Regions from separate parts of the Homo sapiens genome. Here regions 1, 3 and 4 are each linked to region 2. Evidence: promoter capture Hi-C in 16 types of primary human blood cells and fetal thymus (Javierre and others, 2016). All regions are on one chromosome and are shown on one strand. Each heading gives the region's core, a stretch centred on a gene start or on the middle of the fragment in contact. The rest is flanking DNA. Distances are from core to core; before and after follow the strand shown. Region 1 overlaps AK5 (adenylate kinase 5). Region 2 holds the start of AK5 (adenylate kinase 5). Region 3 overlaps AK5 (adenylate kinase 5). Region 4 overlaps AK5 (adenylate kinase 5).

The links. Contacts are between HindIII fragments. The CHiCAGO score rates a contact against its expected background, and 5 or more counts as called.
Region 1: a fragment that was not itself captured here is called in contact with the fragment with the promoter of AK5 in region 2 in 1 of 17 cell types (monocytes); the score reaches 5.2 in monocytes.
Region 3: a contact is called between a fragment that was not itself captured here and the fragment with the promoter of AK5 in region 2, in 1 of 17 cell types (non-activated CD4 T cells). The highest score is 5.3, in non-activated CD4 T cells.
Region 4: a contact is called between a fragment that was not itself captured here and the fragment with the promoter of AK5 in region 2, in 1 of 17 cell types (monocytes). The highest score is 5.9, in monocytes.

What each region holds. Positions count from the first base shown.
Region 1 is chr1:77,475,499-77,482,347 of GRCh38, reverse strand. The region is part of intron 8 of AK5 (adenylate kinase 5); the gene reads right to left. Among named protein-coding and RNA genes, the nearest start is that of AK5, 200 kb to the right of the region's middle. The HindIII fragment of the contact is 6,200 bases long and covers 1-5,625 here.
Region 2 is chr1:77,277,976-77,285,214 of GRCh38, reverse strand. It overlaps AK5 (adenylate kinase 5), which reads right to left and starts at 3,196. Exons shown (of 14, transcript NM_174858.3): 1 at 2,842-3,196. The coding sequence starts at 2,901. RefSeq lists a silencer at 3,277-3,336. The HindIII fragment of the contact is 11,909 bases long and covers 1-7,239 here.
Region 3 is chr1:77,449,786-77,456,899 of GRCh38, reverse strand. The region is part of intron 8 of AK5 (adenylate kinase 5); the gene reads right to left. Among named protein-coding and RNA genes, the nearest start is that of AK5, 170 kb to the right of the region's middle. The HindIII fragment of the contact is 941 bases long and covers 1,934-2,874 here.
Region 4 is chr1:77,523,706-77,530,187 of GRCh38, reverse strand. All of the region lies in intron 12 of AK5 (adenylate kinase 5), which reads right to left. Among named protein-coding and RNA genes, the nearest start is that of ZZZ3, 160 kb to the left of the region's middle. The HindIII fragment of the contact is 614 bases long and covers 4,721-5,334 here.

The DNA.
Region 1 (6,849 bases), core at 1,276-3,775, 200 kb before region 2:
TTATGGAGTAGCCCATGGTGGTTGGAAAAAAATTCAGAAAAACATTTTATAAAAAGGCACTAGGTGAGAACTCTCACTCTCACCTATGTCTTCACCTGTATCATTTCTCCACTCTGTCACCCCTCATAGGTAACCACTTATACAGATTTTTCTTGAGGCAAACAAAAATGACTTCTAGATATCCAGGGATACATGTGAACATAAATAGATATTATGATCTCCACTTCTTATACAAAAGCATTATACTTTTATTATACATGCATATGTGTTTACGATATAATACTATTCTATAATACATTGCTCCTCCACTTGCTTTTTCTCTGATCAATGTATCCTGGAGAAATTTCCATATAAGTACAGAATGTTCTCAGTACCAAATATCATCAGTTGCACAGCATTCTATTGTATATGTGGTACCATAATTGTTGTTGTTTAATTAGTCCTTTATTGATGGATCAGTGAGTAGTTTCCAGTCTCAAACTTTTTTTGGAAAAAGTGGCACAGTGAGTAAATTGGCATAAATATCATTTCATACTGCAGGCTAAATTTCGAGAGAGGGGACTGCATGGTCAAAGAGTAAATGTATTTATAATTTTGATCGAATTTTGCCAAACTGCTCCCCACAGAGGTTGTACCATTTTGAAGGGACAGCCTCTGGCTTGTGCTTTATGCTGGCCTCTTGCCTCTAATTCACTTTGATGCCTGAGTCAGTTAAATGAGGTTGTCTGGTTGTATTAACACTCCCTTGAGGTAAACCGCCCTCAAAACACTTTATTTAAAGACAGATTCTTGCTGTCCTGTTTAGAATATATGCCTTCAGGGAAATTTTACTGCTCATCTTCTTAGAGTTGCCTGTGCATTCAGTGCTATTCCAGGTAAGAGAAGAGCTATTAACAGAGTGGTCATTCAGGGACACATTTACATTAATGAATTCTCTTCTGTGAATAGAAAAAACATCAATTATTCCTCAACAAGCCTCTCCACCACTTCCCTTGTTGAAATTACCGCAATTCAGAGCTTGGAGTTTAGGGATCACCTAATCCAATCCTGCCACCCACTCTTCCATTTTACAGATGAGGAAACTGATGTTCAGAGAGGTCATGCGAAGGGCCCATGGCCATGCCGTCATGTCCTTAGTGACGTCAGGATGGGATGAGAACCACTTCTTTTACCACTTTGCATGGCTGCTATGCATTTGGTCTCATCAGTGTAGGGGCATCCCCTCTCCTCTGCTCACCTGGCCAGGCACCCAGCCACCGAACTGCTGCTAAGGGCCCACTACAGTCTGGCTCCCTGCCTCAAGCTGGGATGAATCCATGGTGCAAGCTGAGCCCCAGAGCTCACCATGGTCTCAGGCTGAAGTTAGGATGGAGCCAGGACCACATCTTTGCTTAGCTCTTACCCCTGCCCTATCCTGCTTCTCCTCAGAGGGCTCCCTAATAATGCACTTGCATGAGAATTCTTGTCTCAGGCTCTGCTTCTAGGGGAAAAATATCAATTACTGCTCAAGACAGGGACCTTGAGGAGTTCCCAAATTCTCAGGGAATTTTGGATTTAAGACAGGGACCTATTTGAAGCAATTAATAAGTTTGCCTAAGGTGCAGCTGCATAGAACAGGCTCAAGAGTATTTCCTGGAAAAGGATTGTTTAATCTAAATCTTCTTATTGTTTGTCAAACAGCTATTGAATCTATCTAGGTAATGTTGAGAGGAAACCATGGAGTCCTCTCCCTCAATTTTTAATATTATTGTTAGATTATCAGACTTATACCCACCTTATAGGCTAGGCTGTATTAGATCTTTCTTCTACATGGCTATCATGTTTGGGGAGTCTGATCGTGGTTAATGTGAATTCCTGAAACAGTGCATCCCACTGTAAAAGGGCCCATCTGACCTCTGCCAGGCTTCCTGAGTCTGACCTATTTGTATCCACAGCTATTATTCACAGCCTTCTATTACACTTGCTCAAATGTTTCACATGAGCCCCAGCTTTATTTTCATTAATTCATCAATAGTGAACAGGCTGCTGGGACATAGATGCAACTGTCATCAACTCTCACCAGGAATGCGGTGCACTGACATGAAAGCCCAGGTGAATGAGATGTTTGATTGGAGGGTGTAACCAGGGACTCTCAATAAACCTCATGGTTCCAATGTGAATATTTTGTAAACAAAATTAATCTGGCATCTTACACACACACACACACACACACACACACACACACACACTCGGGGTGAATGGGAAACACTTCTGGTTTTGGTGAAAAAGATACCAAACAGCCCCTGTAAGCACTAAATCTTGTTACTTTTCAAATGTTGGGTGTGTTCTGCATGAAAGGCATTAATTTCAGAATGTCACTTGGACAAGGAACCAAAGGCTGTAGGCTTATTCAGGAGACGTCTGATCAGGTGTTTATGCTCAGTCGCCTTGGAGCTTCCTCTTCAATGAGGCATCACTTGAGAAGACTCAACCCATTAGCCACCACTCTGAGTGTCTGTGGGTGCCTCTTTGTGTTCTGGCCTTTTTCTGTGTTGAGGCTCCATCTAGTCCACCCTTTGTCACCTTAAGTCTGAATTATGGAGTTAGGCTTTGTGTGCACAACGGGACATAGGTGACTTTCCATAGTATTAAACTAGGTTTTGAGGTACATGAAGTGGGATACTAAATCTTCTGAACTGACAAAGAGAGAGAGAGAGAGTATAAATATAGTCACACATTTGATTTAAGTGACCTTTAAGACTCACATGTATGGGGCGCCAAGGCACAGCCTGCAATGCTGTGATTAATACTGTTAAGGTGGGAGAAGCTGCAGCAAACCCACTAACACCAAAAGACAATTTCAGGCCGGGTACGGTGGCTCACGCCTGTAATCCCAGCACTTTGGGAGGCCAAGGCAGACGGATCACCTGAAGTTGGGAGTTTGAGACCAGTCTGATCAACATGGAGAAACTCCGTCTCTACTAAAAATACAAAAATTAGCCGGGCATAGTGGCGCATGCCTGTAATCCTAGGTACTCAGGAAGTTTAGGCAGGAGACTCCCTTGAAACCTGGGAGGCGGAGGTTGCAGTGAGCTGAGATCATGCCACTGCACTCCAGCCTGGGCAACAAGAGCGAAATTCCGCCTCAAAAAAAAAAAAAAAAAAAAAAAAAGACAATTTCAGGTTGCTACCTCATTTTGATGCTATAGATTGGGTAATATGTTGGTAATTGATGAGGAGAAATCTAGAATTCTATTGAAGGGACACATTTAAAATTTCAAAGTGGGATTACTGGCTATGGAAAACTGCAGATTTGGATTAGAGACTTGCTTTGGTCTCTATCCCTCATCTTCCAGTCAATCAAGACCCATTAGGAGGGCAAAAGGAACCCACATTCAACCTTATTTCCCTGTGTAGGTGTATATGCAAAAAAAAAAAAAACTACTTTTGCAAGGCTGGGTTCTGGTACTATCATTTGTATGAAGAGTGGCTAATTGGGGTATATATGTGCTTTCCTTTAGGATCAGGGTGCCTATCATCACCACCTTAAGATATTCATGTCTAGTCATTTCCATTTCCTTGAATTATTGAATTTTAAATGAGGGAGATCAAAATAGAACAACTTAGTCTCACAGATGGGTTCACCAATTTTAAGAAACTATCTTCTTCAACTGGGTTTGATTACAGCATAGTGACTGCTCCTGGTGACAGAACCAATTTCTGTGGCATTGCCACAGTAGATTGTGTTAGTTTGTTTTCATACAGCTGATAAAGACATACCTGAGATTGGGCAATTTCCAAAGGAAAGAGGTTTAATGGAGAACTCATGGTCCCACGTGGCTGAAGAACCCTCACAATTATGGCGGAAGAGAAGGAGGAGCAAGTCACATCTTATGTGGATGGCAGCAGGCAAGGAGAGCTTGTGTAGAGAACTCCAATTTTTAAAACCATCAGATCTCCTGAGACCCATTCACTATCATGAGAACAGCATAGGAAAGACCCGCCCCCATGATTCAATCATTTCCCACCAGATCCCTCCCACAACATGTGGGAATTATGGGAGCTACAAGATGAGATTTGGGTGGGGACACAGAGCCAAACCATATCACAGATCACCTCATCATAAGAAGCTGACATTTAAATAATTCAGCTTGCAAGCCTGTTTGCAGATATGATCTCACTGGACCCTCACTGCAACCTCATGGATGAGGAACTTGTAGTTGAGATTCTGAGGGAGCACAGGATGGGGATGTGCCTGGGCTTCCCATGGCACAAGAGGTGAGCTGAACTTTGAAGTCAGCTCTCTGACACTAACCTCTGCTTCCTCAGCAGCATCCTCTTACTGCTCTTGGAGATGACAATCATGTATTCAGATATGCCCACCGTCCTTCCTTAAACCGTTTTGGTTTTTAAAAATGCTTTTGGAGGCCACAAAATTAAAGTTCTCCTGAGAAGGAGAAAGAAGTAATAGGTCATTTTGGGGGTGTATTCCCAGTTCAGAGTAACTTGTTTGTATTAACCAGCATGTGTGTTTCATGGTAGCAAAATGTGTAACTTCAAATGGGGTTATGAGAAAGGGGCTTACTTGACATTAAAATGTTACAGCTAAGATTAATTTCTTGCTCTAAAATTCACAAATGAATGCTGCAAAAAAAGGAGACTTTGTTTTTCTGACACTGAACATAGATAACTTCAAAATGCAAAAAAAAAGAAAAAAGAAAAAAGGATTTAAAAGTGATTCCTTAGTCTCTAAGATAATGTAAGGAGCAGTCTTTTCTAATTTTTTCTTACCTCAATGAGTACTAAACAGAATAACTCAAATTCTGGAAGAATCATGAACCATGAAATGCTAGCATATGAGGATTTTCCTAGATTTCTATTTAAATTGGTCTAGTGACTTCTCTCTGGTTACAGGAAGTAATAGCAGAGTGGTGGGGATAGAGGTGGAGCAAAAAAATATCGTGTAAGTTCTTGGAAGGGTTCACTTCATTGAGGGGCAGAATCTTAATAGGATGGAATAATAATTTAAAAAGAACAACCAGGCCAGATGTGGTGGCTCATGTCTATAATCCCAGCACTTTGGAAGGCCAAGGAGGGAGGATCATTTGAGCCCAGGAGTTTGAGACTAGCCTGGGCAACATAGTGAGACCCTGCTCTACAAAAAATTTAAAAAATTAGCTGGGCATGGTGGTGTGCACCTGTGGTCCCAGCTACTCAGGAGGCTAAGGCTGGAGGACGGCTTGGGCCTAGGAGGTTGAGGCTGCAGTAAGCCATGACTGCATCAGTACACTCTAGCCTGGATGACAGAGTGAGACCCTGTCTCAGAAACACACACACGCACACACACACACACACACACACACACTAAAAAGAACAATCAAAAATAGATCAGGCTATTTCCTCATCTTTTTACCTGAAAATGAATTTTTTTGCACTTTCCTTATACCTGTTTTTTTTTTTTAAAAAAACAGCAAAACACCTCACACATTAAACAATTTTAGAAAATGATTACTGGAACTATTATTTCAGTAGTACTTAGAGTGTTTTCAGCATGTGCAATCTCATCTGATCTCAGAAAAAAACTAGGAAGTAGGCAAGTTTGATGTTTCCCATTTTTCAGATGAGGAAACTGAAGCTCAGAAAGCTTATGCAACTTGTGCAGGATGCCCTGGTGGGTCGGGCTTCCCAATTCCCCAAGCCCATGTTCTGCCTTCCTCCGGCTGACCCGGCTGGCGTGAGATGATACATAAGTGCAGGATGACGGAGTATGGTGAGCAGGGAGGGGCATCGTTAGAAATGCTCCTGGTGTCATATGAATAGAAACGAAGATGGATTCATTTGCTAAAAGTGGAGCTGAAGCTGGATCATGCTAAACCAATGATCTGAAAATGAATTTTACAGGTTTTACTGGAAAACTGTGAATGAAGTTTTGAAATCCCTTGGAACTTCAGCAGGAGAATGTTGAAAAATACAAACATAAGTACATTTTATCACCAGGGAGAAGGGAGACTGGTCCTTCAGAAATTTTGAGTGGTTACAGTTCTTTTCTAAACCATGTTTTCATTTAAAGTAATGGGCAATTTGAAAGAAAAAAAGTATGGGAAATGGTGTGTAATTTAGTTACACCCCAGAATTTATTCCGCAGCAAGTCCCATTTCTCATTCACTGAACTACACAATTAGAGGTCTGCTTGCTGTAAAGTACTTGTATAACTGAGTAAACAGAGTTGAAAAAAATGTGGTAGATGCTAGGCTAACTTTTTCCAGTTGTATTAAATTGCAGTTTCTCTATATAAACTGCTTTAACAGACCTAGTTCTCTAGGAGAAATGGTATTTTTCTTCTCTTACATATAAATTGCAATATTAGTGTCTCTAATAAGAAATTTTAAAGAAAAAAATTTTCTCACTGTTTTTCTCTAAGTTCCTTTTTTCATCATCTCAAATACGTGTTCAACTCAACTCTCTGCTAGAAGATTATGAAACACTTTGATCTTGTCTTCAGATGCCAAATGTAGCACCATTGTTAAGAAGAGCTTTGTCAGGCTGGTGGTTTAAAGGAAGGGGCAAAGTTCCCATTTTAATTTCATGTAAAGTTAATGTTGGCCATAAAGTCACATCTGACTAGTCTTGCCAAGGAATTATTTGACCTTTACCTCTTTGTTTTCTAATTCCTTGTAAAACAGAAATAAAATGGCAAAGCTGAGCTTCAGTCACTGGGAATTACAGAGCACACTGGCTTGTCTCTTAACTTTTATTAGGTGCCATACATATATACAGGATCCATATATAGATATACAGAGAGAGTAATACATATATATATATAATATATATTTGTATATATATAATATATATACATATATATATAATATA
Region 2 (7,239 bases), core at 1,947-4,446:
TCATATATTTATTTGCATACCCAGTGCATTCTCAGCCCTGTGTGACTTTATTATCCCCATTTTATAGATTAGGAAATCATGGCTCAGAGATATTAGTGATGGCTCTAGTTTACTCAACTAGAAACTCCTAGGCCCAGGATTTCAATTCAATGTTTCCAATTCCAAAACCCATATGTTCTTCTCTGTACCTGTTGCAGAAACGTGATATGAGATAAAAGAAAACATGAGATTCTCTGTGCCCTCTGCAAAATGCCCTCTTTTTATCCCTACTATTGCCTGAAATGGGTGAACACTCTCAATGACTCTTTTCTGAAAATATACATTTCCAGCGTCCTTAAACAATACTGGTTCACCAAAGGGCATTGATTTTAAAATGGGACAATGAGCTCCATTCCTTCACGGATAATTCAAATCTTTTCTTCTAATAGCCAGCCACTATCAGGGATTGAAGACAACCAGCACATATTATTGCTCAGTCTCTGAGTGAACCCTTTGAGACCTTGAATAATCTGACTTTCCACAGTATTCAAATTGATTGCCAAATCTCTGCTGTAAGCTACAAGATCAATATACACACCATAAGGTTAGCCAGAATTAAGAACTCATGACAAAATAATAAGAAAGTGGGTTTAAAAAAGTCTAAAACTGGAAACACATTTCAAACATGAACGTACCAGAGATATCCCATATTCCATTTAGCTTACATGATGTCTCAAATTAGGAAAAAATCTGAAAAGGTCAGTTAGATATATTTACTTGTCTGACAATACGTCAATACAATAATCAGTCAGTTTGTCTGTAATAGCGTCTAAAATCCACAGCTGGGGCCAATGTCTTGGTGTTTAGTAGACAGCTAATTGTTAAACTTTGTACACCTAAAATATTGTGGTGGGCAAAATCCATTTTAAAAACCTAAAGTTTTTAGTTTTACAGTCTACACTAATCACATGGAGAACTGCCAGATTTTCCTTCCCTCTTGAGCTGCGCATAGCACAGATTCGTCTTACTGAAGGATGTAGCCTTTGAGGTCACCAGCAGTCTACTTCCATCTTCTCATTGTCCACAAGTGAATCTAAGTCCATTACTGTATTTCACCCAAGCAAGTTGACTTCCTTTTCTGGGTGTGCATTATTTATCCCATTCATATGCAGAAAAGTAAATAAGAAACATAAAACCTTAACAAAAAGGCCTGCCATAACTTATTTGCATGCACAGTGTAGATTTTAATAAACTATCAAACTTCTCTGTGGTTACCTTCCACCAAGGAGGAAAAACAGTACCCACATTTACAAAGAAAAAAAGATGTACTATGTAGGAATTTTTGCAATCACGTGGTCCTCCTACAGATGTTTTTAATGATTCTTTTAGAAGCGTAGAAATGAAATATATCTCAGTAGTAATCTTTGTGAGAAAAACCTTCGCCTCTTAATTTCCATATTTACTTTTTGAAAATAAAAACAAACAAAAAAAACAACTCTTAAGATTCCCACATATTCTCAAGACCTGTCCTTATGCAACACCACCTAATTATTTTCACGCAGGAGTAACACATTTGCTAGATTTGGGCTTCACATACCACGCTTGAGTTCAGTGAGTGGTTTACCTGGAAATCTTGACTTCAGATGACCTGAAAACGGTGGCTTATAGAGGTGAGAGAAAAGAAGACCTGTAATTATGGCAACCCATTTTAAAGATAGTTTAGGGAAACTGAGGCAAAATTATTTTCTCAAGTGGTGCTTTAAAATTCCTTTTAACAGAACAAATCCCCCAAACCGGGGGGAAAAACCCTCATGACCTTTAGTTTACGATATCAGTCTATCCGTTTTCAGAAATGGGGAACGAGGTTTGCAGTGAATGGATTTCTCCTTTCAGAGCTCGCTTAGGAAGCCTGGCTTGCTTCTATTCTTTTCTCCTCCTCCCCCCTACTTCAAGCAAAAGCACTTGAGATTCAGGAATGTTTTTAAATTCAAATACAAAGAGAAGGAAAGGAAGCCAAACGACCTGAGACAGGGGTTGTGGCTTAGAACAGACCAAGGTTCATTCCTCGAGCCTCCTCTCTCTCAGTCTCCAAGTGTCCCCCCATTCCCGGGTCCCGGTGCAGATGATGCTGTGCTGCGGTCTGAAGACTGAGCAACAGGAGTCCGCCCCCCTCGCAGCTCCCTCCCCGACCCGCTATCTCCAGGTGGGTTGTCGAGCACTGGCGAAACCTGCGGCCCAACCCTTCCTAGGCAACGGGAAAAACGTGCTCAGGAGTTCATTCAGCGAAAGCGCAGAGCAAGGCTGGGGGCCTGTCACCGGGGAGGTGGCACTTGATAGGTTGGGTTTTGCTTTTTGCATCTTCATCCCTCTCTTCCAAGCTGTCTCCAGGAAGGGCTGCCTTCGTCCACATTTCCTCTTTCCCCCAGGGGTTCCGACCCTCGACCAGCAGAGTGACTAGGGCTCTGGCTCCCTCAGTTTCGAGTCTTTACTCGCTGCTGGGCGACAGTGCAGCCACCTGACCTGGCCCTCGCCCCCAGAGAGTGCGGCCCGGCCGCGGTCTGCAGCCCACCCTGGGTGTCCACATCCGAGGGGCGCGATGGGAGCAGGCTGCTTTCAGAACCCTGCTGGAAGACTGAAACTTGATCTGTGAGATGCAGGCTTCTAAGCCCAGCCTTCTGACAAGGACCCTGGCAACCCGCGGGAAAGGCGACTACCCTCGGGGGAGCGGGCGAGTGCGCTTCTACAAGCCCCTTCATTACATGCCCCGTGTGGGGAAGGTGGGACGGGGCGCGGCTGCCTCAACCCGAACCCCTGAGATGCAGTCCCCGGATGCTACCGCCCGTCGGCCAGCTCTAGCCCTACCTCAAAAAGCTGAGGGATTTCCCTCCGGGCCAGATACTCCTTGGCATCGTTGGTGTTCATGGCTGTGCCGCGCGTGCCTTGGGGCGCAAGCGGGGAGGCTCCCGGGCTGCGGCGACCTGAGCCGGGGCTGAAGCTGGGGCTGGCAGAGTCCGCGCCGAGCAGCGGTGCAGCCCTCTTTCTCACGCGCACTCAGCTCAGCCTCTCCGCCCAGGCCAGGGACCCCCTCCGCCTCTCCCCGGGGGCTGTGGTCTCCGCGCTCCCGCCGCCCCCGCTTCGGTTCCAGCCCCCGAGCCGGAGCTGCAGGCGCCGAGCAGCTGTGCCGCGGCTTCCCGGGCTGCCAGGCAGCGCGGCCGCCAGGGGTGGGGCGCAGGGAGCGGAGGAGGGAGGACAGCGTGGCGAACGCAAGGCAGCAGCCGGCCCGCCTCTCCGGTTCAGCGCGCCGCGCTCCGCGCCTCCCCGAGCCGGGTCTGCGGCGGCTGCCGGTCACGCTGCGCGGGCTGGCGCGAGGTGCGGAGGTGGGGGCGGGCACGCGCAAGGGGTCGTAGTCATACCCCTCGGTGCGGCACCGGCGCCAGAGCGCGACGCTTCACTGCGTGCGCCGCCCAGGGATGCAGCTACCGGGGACCAGGTGGCCAAGGGAACAGGGTCGGGGTCTGTAGGAACCTGCGACCGTTTCGCTTCTCCGGACCTTGTACGCACACAGACACACTCGCACGCACATACACGGTTACCTCCGGGTCTCCGAGGAACTCCCAGGAAAAACCTAATAGTCACAGGATTTATCATTTATTCCTAAGGTTACGGATCTTTCACTATAGGGAGCTGTGGGGAAGGGGGAAAAGGGGATTCATGGTGTGGAATCCAACCCTTCAGATAATTTTTAGATCTTGAGTATCTCTATCCTTCAGGAAAGTTTTGCTAGCTGGTTTCGAATTTTTACCCTGTCGGTGTCACAAATCTTTATAGACTTTAGGATAAGGCCTTAGTGTGAGCCTGAAATCCTAATCAACTGAAGGACTAATAAGTAGTCAACTAGTTAATTATCTCCATGGAGAAGAAGGGACAGTGGAGGAGAAAGGTGGGTGGTAGTGGAGAGCTAGAGATGCTTAAATTGCAAATGTGTTTAGTAGGTGGGGAGGGTGGGCATCATTAATTAGACCTGAAGAGTGTGCAGTCCGTGGACAGTGTCGTATCAGAGCACCCCTGGGGGAATATGAGTGAGTATGAGTGGGTGCGCTAAGGCATAATGGTTAATGGATCTTCCTGCTGCAGACCATTGTTAAGGTGTAACCCATCTTCCTCCTAGCTCCCAAGATGACTCAATTCCCTGCTAAGATGTCTTCACATTGCCTATTTGGGAGATAGTCCTTGCCCCCGGAGAATATGATCTCTAACTTCCCACAAAGCCTAACACTGTAGGAGGGTGTGTGAGAGAGGACACTTTGGTAGGCACTGGTATCTGGGGTCTGGCTGGAGAAAGAAGCAACGCTGCCACTGCTTTAAAAAACTATAGAGTCTGAATGTCCATTTCAAGTGCTTCTTTGCAGATCTTTTCTTGGTTCTATTTCTTGTTCCGGAAACAACTGCAGCTCAAGCCTTAACTACAGCTGCAGCTTTGTTTTACCTGAGGGAGTAAATGAACTTTTAGCACTTGTGAACCCGTGTGTCATATGGTTGCCTTAAACGAGGCAGGTATTTCAGTTCCATGGAAATTGGTTTTTGCCCTTAGAATATGCCATTTCACTTACAGTCCCAACTTCTAGTATTTCTTTAGCTTATTTAAGATTGGCTATGGCAGTAGTGAAGGCAGTGTCTCTTCCCTATGCAATGATGCTTGAAAAGTACAATGGTCCGTGGCATTAAGGCTTCCTTTGTGAGCAGGCACAGTGGAGGTGAACACGCAGGAATGAAAAGGCCAGTTTCTCCAGGACTTTTCAAGGTCATCCTTTGCAGACAAGAATCTGGCAGAGCATGGCTCACCTGTCTTCCCTTGAAGAAATGCATAATTCTAAGTGTACTTTAGTGTTACCGGACAAGTGTTGGCAACTTGCTTGTAAAAAGAGAATGGATAAGAAAGACTGCACTGCACTAAAAATTGTAGATAGCCTGAAAAATGTAGTAAATGGTGATACGGCAAGTTTTCAAGTAGCCTTATGCAGAGACAATTAGTGTATTTTGGTGTGTGCCAGGGTGGAGAGAGATGCGTGAAAGAGGAAGATGTTCATAATTACTTTTGCAAAGGAAGTTGTGGCTTTGTAGGGAGGGGCTACATGAGAGAGATATAATGCTTAAAAGCCAAGCTAATGGTTCAAAAGAGAGGAAAGAGAAAGGACAAGGAACACTAAATACATCCTTGCTGTGGGAAAGCTGGCCTCTCATTCCCTGTGATGAAATTCTATGTGTGGGTATATAGAAGGCTCATGGCCCTTGGCCCTTTGTTTATTTGGGAATGCTTTCCTGCAAGCTATAATGAATCAAAATGGTTACTGCATGTCGGATGTCTTCGGATAGACTCTCTTGTCATCACGTCTTGAGAGAGGGTGCTAGGTTCTGAGATATAGCAGTGAATAACAGACATGATCCTTGCTGTCAAGGAACTTAAATTCTATGAAGAGTGTGTGTAAGAAGTGCAGATGAACAATAAGCAAATAAAAATGCATAGACAACATCACATAGTGATTAAAAAATACAAAGAAGGACATAAACAAGAACATATCAGTTAGTGATAACTGATGACGAAAATCAGAGTTGTTGATTTGAAACAAGGGGGCAGAGGCTCCAGGTCTGTTCTGTGGAAGCAGCTGAGGAAATGGGAGTAAGAATAACCATTAGGGGCCGGGCACGGTGGCTCACGCCTGTAATCTCAGCACTTTGGGAGGCCGAGGAGGGAGGATCACGAGGTCAGGAGATCAAGACCATTCTGGCTAACACGGTGAAAACCCGTCTCTACTAAAAATACAAAAAATTAGCCGGGAGTGGTAGCGAGCACCTGTAGTCCCAGCTACTCGGGAGGCTGAGGCAGGAGAATGGCGTGAACCCGGGAGGCGGAGCTTGCAGTGAGCCGAGATGGCGCCACTGCACTCCAGCCTGTGCGACAGAGCAAGACTCCGCTCCAAAAAAAAAAAAAAAAAAAAAAAAAGAAAAGAAAAAGGAATAACCATTGGGATGATGACTAGGACTTCCAAAGGGCTAGGCATCCTTCAGACTCTTGGTGGGAATGTTTCCCTGAGTCATGATAGGTACAGATGAATGGAGGAATAAAATATCTATAGCTGTATCTATAGAATGCTTAGGACTCAGCCAAAGAAATTTAGAAAGGTACCCTAGCAGGAAAAAGTAAACTTTCTATTTTAAAAAACAAATATGTTGAAGTCTTTAAAAATTACACCATGATGGCTTGAAAGAGTAAATGCCATATATAGAGATTCCTGATTTACCATGTAGGAGTATGTTTAGGTGCTGAGAAAATCTAGCTCAAGCAATGTCTTCGTAATGTCTAGAAATATAATGGTGTATAAATACATGATTTACGAGTCACAATGAAAATAGTGTTTTATGATAATTCATTCAGTCAACAGATATTTCTTGTGCATCTCCTGTGTGCCAGGCATCGCTGGCACTGCTGTGCTGTCAGGCGCGTAGGTGAATAAAACACATGCATGGAGCATTTATCTAGGAGCAGGAGATAATTTGCAACAGATATAATAAACAAGTATATGAAATTGTTGTTAGATGGTGATAAATACCATGGGAAAAGGAAAAGTAGAGGAGGGTAAGGAGAACTAGAAGGCTGGCTTCAGTTTTATACAGAGTGGTCAGGGAAGGCCTCATTGAGAAGGTGAAATTCCAGCAAAGGTTTGAGAAAGTGAGAGAGCAACCACTTCAAATGTCCTAGCAAGGGCAGATTCCTGGCACTTTCTGGCAACAGCAAGGAGGCTAGTGTAGCAGGAACAGGGTGAGGAAGGAGAAGAACAGAGAGGAATGGGGCCAAAGCACTTGGGACCTTGTAAACCATTGTCAGTTCTTCTCTAATGGGAAGTTAGAGAAACGTTTCAAGCCAAGACTAATATGATCTGACTTACATTTTAAAAGGCTTCTCTGTCTGCTGGTTTAGGTATATGTAAGAGAGAAAAGGTAGGAGTGGGGAGAACACTTGGAAGGCTATTGTGACTCAGGTGTGAGGTGACGAAGGCATGGACTCAAATATTGGCAGCAGAGACAATGAGAACTGGTTAAATCCTAGATATATTTTGAAGATAGAACAAATAGGGTTTCTTGACAGCTTGGATGTAGTATATGAGAGAAAAAGAAATCCTCAAGTATGACTTCATGGTTTTTGGCCTGAGGATAGTGTGGAGACAATTAATTGGCCTCAAGAGGCTTACTAACTTACAAAAT
Region 3 (7,114 bases), core at 1,155-3,654, 170 kb before region 2:
CTCCAGAAAAGTGAAGTGATGCATAGAGAGGAAGACAACAGACCCCAGATACTAGAATGAGGCTCAACCAGGCCCACACAGAGGAGTTAATTGGTTTTCAGAAAAGGCTGCATGGGGCAGGTGAGAAGAGCAGGCTTTAGGCTTCAGTGATGCCCTGCACGTCACTCCTTCCCCATTCTGCATGGTTCTTTGGAACTAGGGTGACCAACCATCCCATTTTCTCAGGATGAAGAGGTTTCCTAAGATGGGGCATTTTACCAGGTAAGCTGGGACAGCTGGTCTCCATACTTGGAACTGAGGCCCATCCTCGTTCTTTTAAGTCTGTGCCTTCGAAGGTGCTGTTCTTGCTCCCTGGCACATGCTCTCTGCCCAGTCATTTCTTACTCTCCCCCTGAGCCCCAGCCCAAGCTTGGAGATGGAGAAATGTATCCAGGTCAAGATGGCTCTCTTCTCTAGCAAGGTGTAACACCAGAACAGGCTGTTAACCTTCGGAGACATCTGTATTCAGGCAGATGCCAAGTGAAACCTCTCCATGCTGAGGTGAGAGCTGCAGTCAGGTTGGGGTTTACTCCCAGTTTCCTGGGAGATCAGAAACTAGTGTCCTTAAGCAGGTGGAAAAACAAAGATAAAATCTGCCACAGGGCTCAATCAGCTGAGGAAACAACTGCGGTAGTAGAGTCTTATCATTACAGTTCTCTAAATTCTATGAAACCTCACTCTTAGTATTGAGGAATTACTTGCTGTTTTAGGGGCTTCCACTGTTCATTTTCTCCAAACAGACATTGCCTTAGAGTGGACAAAGTCCGAGCTGAATAACTGCATGGAAACTGCACAATCCTAGGCACTTCAGGTACTCTTCTCTGATTTTATGGGTTACTTTCATGAATTAGCACATTTCCTTCACATTTAAATGAATTTTAAAAATCATACTTTCTTACATTTTGGAGACCACCACTCCTGGTGCTTTTGATCTGCTCTATTCTGGAAGACTTGATCCCTTTCAGCTGTCAGCCTTCCTAGCTAGTTACAGTGGGTCTCATGCCAGACACACATTACAATCACCTGGGGAGATTTCAAAACCTAACTTTGCTCAGCCTTCATTCTCAGAATCTCTGGGGGTGGGGCGTGAACGTGGGGAGGTTTTACAGCTCACCCGGTGATTCTAATGTGCAGCTAGGGTAATGACTATTGGGTACAGAGCAGTAGTTTTTGCCTTCATCTGTTTGGGCTGCTATAATAAAACATCATAGACTAGGTGAGTTACAAGCAATGGAAATTTATAGCTCACCGTTCTGGATGCTGGGAAGTAGAAGTTCAAGGCTCTGGCAGATTCAGTGTCTGGTGAGGGCCTGTTTTTTTGTTCATAGATGATGCCTTCTGGCTGTGCCCTCACTATTAAATCTCAAAACTTATATTGAGGAATTACTTGCTGTTTTAGGGGCTTCCCCTCTTCATTTTCTCCAGCAAACATTGCCTGCCATGGTGGAATTCCTTCTCATGGTGGGATGGGCAAGGCAGCTTGCTGGGGCAAGCTGGGGCCTCTTTTATAAGGCACTCATGTCTTCATGATGGCTCTGCCCTCACGACCTAATCACCTCCCAAAGGCCTTACTTCCCAACACGGTCATATTGGTGATTAGGTTTCAACAGGTGAATTGTGGGGGAAAACAATCATTCAGATTACAGCAGTTTTGAAGTCAGGGAGATTTGGTTCAATTCCTGCGTTAGCGATATACTAGATGTTTTTGGCCAAGTAATTTCACACTCAGAGTCTCAGTTTTCTCATCTATGAAACGGGCTTACTAATGCCCGCTAGATAGGGCTCTGGTATGGATAAAGAAGTATGTGAAACACTCAGTTTAATACTTGACCCAAATTGAGTGCTCAGCAAAAGTGAGCTGTTAATCATCATTGCTTGGATAGTGGAAAAAGCTTCTTATCATAGAGCAAAAAAGGAAAGGCAACATGATTAACTATCTTGCTCAACATCTTTGTCCAGAGAGAAGATGACACTTGAAGTTTTAACTCTTGATAAGGATTGTAATTTATGAACTAAACTCCACAAAAGAAAAAAAAAAACTTGAGAGAGAACATATCCATTTAAATGGCAACTTAGACCCACTCAAGAAAATGTGTAAGACTAATGTCATCAAATTATTTGTGTGCGAGATGAAATCAGTTAAAACTTTTCCATTGTGAAGAGCTGCGGGTATAAGTGTTATATATTCAACTTGACTTTGCCTGATAATGATTTGTTTTGGTGATAAACATTAATTTCCTATTTTGGTAAATCTATTAATTCTCTTTGGAAAGTATAAATTAAACAAAATAGCTATGGTCTGGTCTACAGAATTTAAATATATTTTGTTAGAATGCAATCATTTTCAGAGTAAATAAAGCAGATGAAAATACAAATAATTAAAATATCTAGAAATAAAGCTAGCTAGATATGTGATGAGAAAGTAACCATATCTTTTTCTTTTCCTGCTGTTGGTTCATGAAAGAGAGAGAGAGAGAATGGCTAGGCTCTGGGCTCCTGGGGTGGATGGAGTAATACTGACCAAGATGGCATACAATTAGGAGTAGGATTTGAGGGGAGTGGAATGAGCCAACACTGTCTATCCCAGCCAGGAGAGTGAGAATATTCCAGAGTAAAGAGGGGTTGGTAGTTTATAAATGGAGAAGACCTGAACCCTATTCCCTTGCTGACAGTCCTGGGTTTGGCAGATATCTAGCTGGGGTCTCAACTGTCCTGTGGTCCATCCGGTCACAGCAGCATGGATGCCGTAGTAGAGCAGCCTACTTTTGGGTGGATCACACAGGCTTGAACAATAAGCATCTCATGTTGACCCTACAGAGCTGAAGACTAGAAGCTTCTTCCTCAAACTTTTTGGACCAGGTGAGTCTTTCCAGACCCTATTAAGACCCTGGAGAAGAGGAAAAAGGGGCTCCCCGTACAATGACTGAGAATGAAAGTTCCTTTACCAATAAGAATAGGGCTATGGAATGAAACTGATTCAGAAAAATACAGAAAGTTTACATGGAGGAAATTAGTCCTTTCCTAACTACTTATACCGTTGTTGCTAATAATAAAGTCGAAGATACATAAACCCATTAAAAGATTGGCTGACCAACTGGCCTCATCTTCTTTGTGAGGAAGCTGATGCCCAGAGGGCTGAGCTGATTTCCCAACTTCCCATTCACCTAGAGATTTGGAAGAGGAAGAAATATAGTAGAGGCAAGAGTCAGTCCCTTCTCACTTTCTCCCCTGCTGTTTATTATAGAAAAACTCTTACACAATGGAGCAAAAAAACAGTATCAGGACATTCACTGCAACAAATTTACAATATTAGAAATCGGAAACAACCTAGATGCCCATGATTGGAACAGATAAATAAATAGTCTTCTAATCTTACATTGGAATACTATACTGCAGTGAAATGAATGGAGCCAAGTTACATTATCAGCATAGATTGAACAAACAAATTAAGTTGCAGAAGGATATATACAATATGAAACACTTTATAAGGGGTTAAAATATGAAAAAATCCTGACATTATTACAAATACATTATTTATTCAACAGTCAATAAATACTTTTTGAAAACCTGCCATGTGCCATGTGTTGCTCTAGGTGCTGGTGATGTATCAGTGAACAGAGAAAAGTACTTGCTTTCTGGGAACTCACATTCTACAGATATACCTACACATGCAGCAGAAATAGAAAGACAAATATGGGATTGACAAACACTGAATTCAGAACGGGGACATCTCTGGGGACAGGCCAGAGGAATGTGACTAAAGAGGGGATGCACAGAGGTTTTCAGTTATTTGCAATGTTTTATTTCTTAAGCTTGGCAGTGGATAAATGATGTTTGTTATATCATTCTCTATAGCTTTTAGTCTGTATGAAATATTTTATACAATCTATTTAATTTTGCTTCCTAGTTTAGTGTCCACAAATTTCTTTTCTTTTTAATAAAAACACATTTGCCTCCACAGATAAAATGAGATCAAATGAAACATAGGAAGATAAATGGATATGTTCTGGACTCTGGCTGTAGGTATTTAAGAAAGCATGTGTGCTTGGAAATTACAAGAACTCTTGGATGTTTTGAATAATATTGTTGTTTCTAGAAGCTCATGGAAGCACTAGCAGACAGCCAGGCCCAGTGAAACTTGTTTGTTCTATCTATGCTTGGCTGAATGAAGGACTGAATGTGGAGTGAACTTGTTCCATGGAAAAGCATGAGAGGCTCTAATGCATGTTGTTGTGGCACCGTTTAATCTAGCCTGGCCGCATAGGTGACTGGCATTTTGGAGAACTACCTTATTGATCAACAGACTGCAGATATTTTAGCATTTAATATACTCTGCATCATGAGTCATGTGGGACTAAATTGGATCCAATCTGACAGCTCTTACTCCAAACATTTAAATAAACAGCCTTATCTAAAAATCTTCCTTTTTGGAGTCCTTTGCCCAATCAATAATCCTTGATTTATTATTAAAGTATATCTGATAAGAAAGAAGGAGAATATTGCAATGCTATCCTTTTTTCTTCATAATTCCACAGGCATTTATTGAAAATTAAAGATATGCCAGTCATGAACAAGTGTTGATACAGAAGTATGTCGATTCATTAAAATTAAGTAAGACATACATATATAGAACAACATAGCTCATTTTGAAAATACATACAAACAAAAAGATACATATAATTGCATTATAATGGATGCTTGTGCAGGAGAGAAAAATGGAAGATGATTACGGGGATATAAAAAAGAATAAATTAAAAAGTAATATATCAAAGGGGGAAAATACGAAGTGGATTTTCACAGAAATAATGGCAATTTTCCCTGAACCGAAAGATATGTTTAACTTGGGCCTCTGCACCTGAGAAAAGTACATAAATAAAGAAATAAAACATAGTCCTTGTCCTCAAGGAACTCACAATCTGGCGGGCAGACATAGGTAGAAACATGTGATTGTTCCACATGATTAATTCAGTAAGCACAGACTGCTTCAAATGGGTACCTTACAGATTTCAGGTCCCTGGGGTAGGAGGGTCTTGTCAGGAGAGATTTCTCTGGACAGGCACCAGTTAACCAGGTGAAATGGTGCAAAGGCAATCGCCGACAGAATATAGAATATACAAAAGCATGGTTGAGAGGAAGAGAATGATTTGGAAAACTGCAAGTACAACCCTGAGAGACTGACGTTACTGTCATGTTTATTCATTCAAGATTATTTATTAAGCAGCTCCTATGTACCCAAGTACTTACATGTGCAAATTGAGATTCAGAGGGTTTGAAAATGCTATCCGTTATACGCTTTGGTCCTTATTTACTCCTAGAGTAATATTCAGAGATTTAGGAAAAGTTTATGTGCCATGATGTGCCAGGGCAGCATTATTTATAACAGTGAAAAGATGAAAGGAAAAACAGGCGTTCTGCAATAAGGGAATGATGAAAATAAATATGGTGTTCCTATAGAATTATATTTTATAGTGCCATTAAAATGTGTTTACAAAAATTATTTGATGACATGGGAAATTCTATATTATTAAATGCAAAATCTGATTATAACATTATTAAATGTCTATCAATCAAGGAAATGCTTCATAATGTCAATGTTAATTTTCTTCTTTATACTTTTTGTATTTTTTTTCAAATTTTCCATAGCATGTAGTTTTGCTTTTATGTCTTTATGTATTTATTTTTTTTTCGAGACAGGGTCTCTCTGTTGCCTAGGCTGTAGTGCAGTGGTAGAATCATGGCTCACTGCAGCCTCAACCTCCCAGGCTCAAGTGATCCTCCCAGCTCAGCTTCCTGAATAGCTAGGGCTACAGGCACATACCATCATGCCTGGCTAATTAAAAAAAGTTTTTTAGAGATGAGGGCTCACTATGTTGCCCAGGCTGGTCTTGAACTCCTGGGCTCAAATGATACTCCTGCTTCGACCTCCAAAAGTGCTGGGATTACAGGTGTGAACCACTGCACCAGCTTAGTTTTGCTTTTATAAATAATAAAAAAGTTATTAAATTTAACAAAATAAGGAAATCAAAGAGTATTATGCTTGAAAGACAAGCAAACACAAACTTGACATTTCTTACAATCTTAGGCATATGTTTATATAACTTGCTCATTTTACAAACCCGTGAAGAAATTAACTTACATGATTGCAAATATGATGTTAAGATCAAGCTAGTTTTTTGAGGGGGTTAGCAGAAGGTTGTTGAGGATAGTTATTATAGATTCTGGGGCAGCAGCATGCCTTATTGGAAAGTGATGAACTTAGAGTGAGGACGTTATTAGTTGTGTGACCTTGGGGATAATGATAATTTTTTTACTGTTGTGAAGATTAAACCAGATCATGAGAACTCTTGGCACAGGATAGGCACTTAATAAAAACTGTTGACTCTGATATTTCTTAAAGAGTATGAATATTCAGTGAAAAACTGGACATTTTAAGTGTGTTCTCATTTGGTTAGAAGGGGTTTGTCTTTATGAGCAGTGTGAAAACAGACTAATACAGTAATTTGGTACCAGTAGAGTGGGGCATTGCTGAAGAGATACCTGAAAATATGGAAGCGACTTTGGAACTGGGTAACAGGCAGAGGTTGGAATAGTTTGGAGGGCTCAGAAGAAGACAGGAAAATGTGGGAAAGTTTGGAACTTCCTAGAGACTTGTTGAATGGCTTTAACAAAAATGCTGATAGTGATACGAACAACAAGGTGCAGGCTGAGGTGGGCTCAGATGGAGATGAGGAACTTGTTGGGAACTGCAGCAAAGGTGACTCTTGCTGTTTTAGCAGAGACTGGAAGCATTTTGCCCCTGCCCTAGAGATTTGTGGAACTTTGAACTTGAGAGAGATGACTTAGGGTATCTGGTGGAAGAAATTTCTAAGCAGCAAAGCATTCAAGATGTGACTTGGGTGTTGTTAAAGACATTTAGTTTTAAAAGGGAAACAGCATAAAAGTGTGGAAAATTTGTAGCATGACATTGCAATAGAAAAGAAAATCCCATTTTCTAAGGAGAAACTCAAGCTGGCTGCAGAAATTTGCGTAAGTAATGAGGAGCCGAATGTTAATCCCCAAGACAATGGGGAAAATG
Region 4 (6,482 bases), core at 3,778-6,277, 240 kb before region 2:
TCCAGGGCTCCCCACAATTCTAAACAACTAGAACACACCAACTGGACATTCCCTTGGCCAGACTCAAACTTTGTGTATGTGTGCATATGTGCACGTGTGTGTGTGTTAAGAGCTCATTCTGAAGATTAGAATACACTTATAAACAGAAACACTGGTTCTGTCAATGAAGTGTCATGAGATAGTTGAGAGTAGTAAGGCAGAGGGATCACTGTGAAGCCATCATTCCCACCTCCACGAGAGTTATGTACATATTCTGGCTAAAGGCAGAATTTCAGCTAAGAGTCTTTTGGGAGGGAAAAGCCAAGAGCAAACCCATGCATTCTACTTCTATTAATATGACTTCTGTTAATATGACTTCCATTAATATGATTTCTGTTAATATGACTTCCATTAATATGACTTCTGTTAATATGACTTCCATTAATATGACTTTTGTTAATATGACTTCTGTTAATATGTGGTTAATTTGGCTGATGTTGAGTATGAGATTGGCTTAATACAGGAAAGCATTTCAATTTCACACCAGGGAGTCAGGCTAAGCACAGAGCCCTTCTCAAGATGGTAAGAATCTATAAAATGGCTCACGCCTATAGTCCCTGCACTTTGGGAGGCCGAGGTGGGCAGATCACGAGGTCAGGAGTTCAAGACTAGCCTGACCAACATGGTGAAACCCCATCTCTACTAAAAATATAAAAATTAGCTGGACGTGGTGGTGGGCACCTGTAATCCCCGCTGCTGAGGCAGGAGAATCACTTGAGCCCAGGAGGCGGAGGTTGCAGTGAGCTGAGATCACGCCATTGCACTCCAGCCTGTGGGACAGAGCAAGACTCCGTCTCAAAAAAAAAAAAAAAAACCTATAAAACGGGGGTCCTAACACCTGTTAAGTAGGACTGTAAAAATTAATCAAATGAAATGTGTAAAGCATCAAGTTCAGTTTCTGGCGCATTGTAAGTACTCAAAAAATAATTACTATTCCTATGTTCTGTATGATTTTAACTAAGCAAAAACAGGCAGAACAAAGCTTGGGGAGAACATACATTAAATATTAATAGGTATTATCACTGGGTGGTTAGTTATTCTTTGTTTTATATTTTTGTGTATTGTTTCATACTATATAATTTTTATTTCTATAGTCAGAAAAAATACACATTATTAAAAAAACTGTAAAGACTTATTGAACACCATATGTAGGCTTATAAGTGTGTAAAGGCACTTGTCAAGGATCCCATCCAATCTTCCCAACAATCACTGAGGTATGTATTTCCAACCAACATTTTGTAGAAGAGGAGAAGGAGATCTACAAAGTTAGCTGACTTGCTTACCAGCCAATGAATTACAAAGCCAGGCTCCAAATACAGGCCTGTTCACACCAGAGTCACTATAACCAGGGGTTCTCAGCTGGAGTGGGGAATGAGGATGGTGATCAGAAACCCTGACTCCTCCCTCATATTCCTTCTGCCTCATTACACACATCTACATGCATACATGCATTACATACATGTACATATACACAGCCCCTCCCCCAGTAATCATTCTGTAAACTGAAGGTATAGGTTGTAATTCAACAGGGATAAAACCAGCTTGGGGAATAGAAGATAGGAAGGTAACAGAAACCACACATAGACTTACCCTTAAGCTGTGGACATTAGTTTGCATTTGATTTTTAGCGATGTCATATGCAGTGTCCAAGGAAATCCTCAAAGGACCTTGTATCTCGGAGAACTCAGCTACAGGTATGCAAAAGTGTCAGCCTAACTAACTGAATTTTTAAAGGAACTGATGGTCCAATGCATCGGACGCATCAATCTCGGTGACACAGAAAGGCTGGTGAGATTTTTGTGGGCTGGTTAAAACCTCTCCAGGCTTGAATGGACCTCAAACATAGTTGCAGGCCTGATGCACTAGGGGAAATACTATGCTTTCAACCAAGCTGATTACTTTGAATCTCTGGGGAAAATCAGATGTCTGCATTTGTCTTTGTCAAATTTCAAATGAATTTCTTGCTTGTAATTTGGAGGGGAGCTACAAATGAAGGGCCCTGCAGGGCATTAAGGAGTCAACAGTAGCTCATTCTGTGTTTGTAGCATCTTTGTTCATCTGGTCAGGTTTTATTATTATTATTATTATTTGAGATGGAGTTTCACTCTGTTGCCCAGGCTGGAATGCAGTGGTGCGATCTTGGCTCACTGCAACCTCTGCCTCCTGGGTTCAAGCGATTCTCCTGCCTCAGCCTCCCAAGTAGCTGGGATTACAGGCATGTGCCACCACGTCCCGCTAATTTTGTATTTTTAGTAGAGACGGGGTTTCGCCATGTTAGTCTGGCTTGTCTCAAACTCCTGACCTCAGGTGATCTGCCCGCCTCGGCCTCCCAAAGTGCTGGGATTACAGGCGTGAGCCACCGTGCCCGGCCATCTGGTCAGGTTTAAAGCAGGAGCTCATTCTGGAGGGCTGGATGTGTTCTCTTGCACACCTGCTTAATTGATACTAGAATCTTCTAAAGTTACTGTACCCAGGGACAAATCAATGTCACTCTTGGTCTCTGTAAGTTCCTCCTAGCAGTATGTAAGAAATCATCTTTGTAGATGTCTAAAATCTCACTTAACGGTTGTATGCTCAGTAATGAAATGTGTTACCTGTGTGTTGTTTGAAATGGAATCATGAATTTTAGCATTGAGTGTAACTGTCCAGTCACCATGTTGATGACTTTCTTGTTCCTTAGTTCTAGTTAGGCTTCTTCTCTGCCACATTCTAAAACCGGTCTGAACGGGGACCACAGTGGGAGAGGAAGTTTTTTGCTTTACTTTAGGGAAGATCACATGGACCATTTGAATTCATACTTACGCCAGAGGACAGACCAATGGGCTGCATAGAGCTCTGAGCTCACCCTAACTGGGTTTTAAGCAAAGGAGGAAGTGGTGATGGAGCAGGAATTTTAGAGGCTTGTATGAGGTGTGATTAACAAATGAGTGATGCTAAACTAGATAATATTTTATAAACTTTTATAGCTTAGAAGACATTTATGCATGTTATATGATCTGATGTTTACAAAACCTTTTAAATAGGTGTTAACAGGTATTATTATCTCCATAATAAATGACAGGTGAAAACCTAGATTTTCTGACTCCAGAGTACACGAGTGACATGCTTTTAATGATTCCACCTTGGGAAGGTCCAGGGTTGTCATTGCTCAAAATGATGTGGAACCCCATAGGCGTTAAGTTCTGGGGTTTGCCTTCAGACTCAATTTTAAAATTCCCCAAAGAAGAATAAGGATTATAATTTAATTTTGTTGTTGTTGACCGAGAGAGAGAGAGAGACCTTATTTATTTACTATACATCTTGTCCTCGATCATTTGAGGGTTTCAAGAGAATGTTCTACCACCTCTCAGAGCAATTAAAAAAAAAAAAAGACTTGGCCAGGCGAGGTGGCTCAAGCCTGTAATCCCAGCACTTTGGGAGGCTGAGAGGGCAGATCACGAGGTCAGGAGATCAAGACCATCCTGGCTAACACGGTGAAACCCCATCTCTACTAAAAATACAAAAAATTAGCCAGGTGTGGTGGCGGGCGCCTGTAGTCCCAGCTACTTGGGAGGCTGAGGCAGGAGAATGGCGTGAACCCGGGAGGCAGAGCTTGCAGTGAGCCAAGATCGCACCACGGCACTCCAGCCTGGGCGACAGAGCGAGACTCCGTCTCAAAAAAAAAAAAAAAAAAAAAAAAAAAAGACTTTTATTCCCATCGCTTCCAAACATGCGCAGGACCTGTCCTGACTTTCCTGGAGGGTCTCTCAGAGCTCTTCTAACCTTAAGTTCAAGGGCAAGGTAAGTGGGAAAAGCCTGAAACACTGTTGACCCTGCAGCAGTTATTACACATCTACAATTGTATGTTAGTGTCATGTTTACACAACTGCCAATCCTCATAGACAGGAAGCTTCTCAACGTTTGTACCACACCTTCCTCTTCCTTTCCCCTCCAACCCCCCAGCCCTGCACAGGCCTTGATTCTAAGGTGGTGTAAGAAAAATACTCCTGTTCCTCAGTTACTTAGAATGTATCCCTAGGGACTTATCCACAGCCTAGACGTTGGCTAGAAGATTAGAATAAACAAAATCTAAAACAATCCATGGAAGGCTTAATATTGCTAAGATGTCGATATTACCCAAAGTGATCTACAGATTTAATGTAATCCCTATCAAAATCCTAATTTTTTTTTCCAGGAATAGAAACATCATTTTAAAACCATATAGAATCTCAAGAGGCCCTCAATTGCCAAAACAATCACCAAAAAGAACAACAAAGCTGGAGGTCTCACACTTCCTGATTTCAAAACTTATTACTAAGCTACAGTAATCAAAAGAATGTGGTACAGGCATAAAGACAGATATATAGACCAATAGAATAGACAGTCCAAAAATAAACTCTCACATATATATGGTCAAATGATTTTTCATGAGGATGCTAGTATGGTTTGGAATTTGTTCCCTCCAAATCCCATGTTGAAATGTGACCGCCAGTGTTGGAAGTGGGGCCAGTTGGAGGTGTTTGGGTCATGGGGGCAGATTGCTCATGAACAGCTTGGTGCTATCCTCGTGGTAATGACTGAGTTCTCATTCTCTAAGTTCATGGAAGATGTGATTATAGAAAAGCGTCAGGGGCCTCTGCCATCTCTCTCTCAACATGTGATGCACTGGCTTCTCCCTCACCTTCCGCTGTGAGTGGAAGCTTCCTGAGGCCTCACCAGAAGCAGATGTCAATGCCATGCTTCCTGTACAGGCTGCAGAACCATGAGCCAAAATAACCTCTTTTCTTTATAAATTACCCAGCCTCAGGTATTCCTCATAGCAATGCGAACGGACTAACATAAATGTCAAGATCATTCTGTAGGAGAAAATATTCTTCCAACAAATGGCATTGGGAAAACTAGATATCCGTATGCAAAATAATCTGACACCATATATAAAAAATTAGCTGAAAATGGATCAAGGCTGGGCATGGTAGCTCACGCCTGTAATCCCAGCACTTTGGGAGGCCAAGGCAGGCGGGTCACATGAGGCCAGGAGTTCAACACAAGCCTGGGCAACATGGTGAAACTCCGTCTCTACTAAAAGTACAAAAAAATTAGCCAGGCGTGGTGGCATGTGCCTGTAGTCCCAGCTACTTGGGAGGCTGAGGCACGAGAATTGCTTGAACCTGGTAGGTAGAGGTTGCAGTGAGCCAAGATTCACCACTGTACTCCAGCCTGGGCGACAGACTGAAACTCCATCACAAACAAACAAAGAAACAAACAAACAAACTGGATCAAAATACCTAAATATATAAGCGCTAAAACTACAAAGCTTTTAGAAGAAAATACGGAGGGAAGGCTTCATGGGGATTAGGTAATAACTTCTTGTACAGGACAAAAAGCACAGGCAACAGAAGTAAAAATAGATAAATTGGACTACACCAAAATGAAAAGCTTTTGTGCATCAAAGGACACAACCAAAAGAGTGAAAAGACAGCCTATCAAATGAAAGAAAATATCTGTAAGTCATATATCTGATAAGGAGTTACTATCCAAAATATATAAAGAACTCCTACAACTAGACAACAACAAAAAGAAAACAACTTCATTTAAAGCACATGAAAAGATGCTCAATGTCACTAATCATTAGAGAACTGCAAATCAAAACCACAATAAGATACCACCTCACACCCATTAGGATGGCCACTATCAAAAAAACCCATAAAATAACAAGTGTTGGTGAGAAGAAATTGAAATTCTCACGCATTGTCGGTAGGAATGTAAAGTGGTGTGGCCACTATGGCTGGCAGTATGTATGTATATGTGTAGTATGGTGGCTCCTCAAAAAATTAAAAATAGAATTACCATATGATCTAGCAATTCCACTTGTGGGTATATACCCAAAAGAACTAATGCAGGAACTTGAACAGATATTGTACACATGTAGTCATGGCAACATTATTCACAATAGCCAGAAAGTGAAAGCAACCCCAGTCTCTATCGATAGGTGAATGAATAAAAATAATGTGGCATATACATACAATGGAATGTTATTTGACCCAGAAAAGGAAGGAAATTCTGACACATGCTACAACATTAATGAACCTTGTGGACATTTTGTTAAGTGAAATAAGAGGTACCTAGAATAGTGAAATTCACAGAGATAGGAAGAAAAATGGTGGTTGTCAGGAGCTGGGGAAAGGAGGGAGAGGGTAGAGTTTCAGGCAGGTGCGGTGGCTCACACCTGTAATCCCAGCACTTTGGGAGGCTGAGGTGAGAGGATCACCTGACCCCAGGAGTTCAAGTCCAGCCCTTGTAACAGAGTGAGATCCCCATCTCTACAAAAAATCAAAAAGTTTAGCTGGGTGTGGTGGTGCAGTCCCAGTTGCTCAGGAGGCTGAGGTGAGAGGATTGCTTGGGCCTTGAGGTTGAGGATGCAGTGAGCTATGAATGCACCACTGCACTCCAGCCAGGGCAACAGG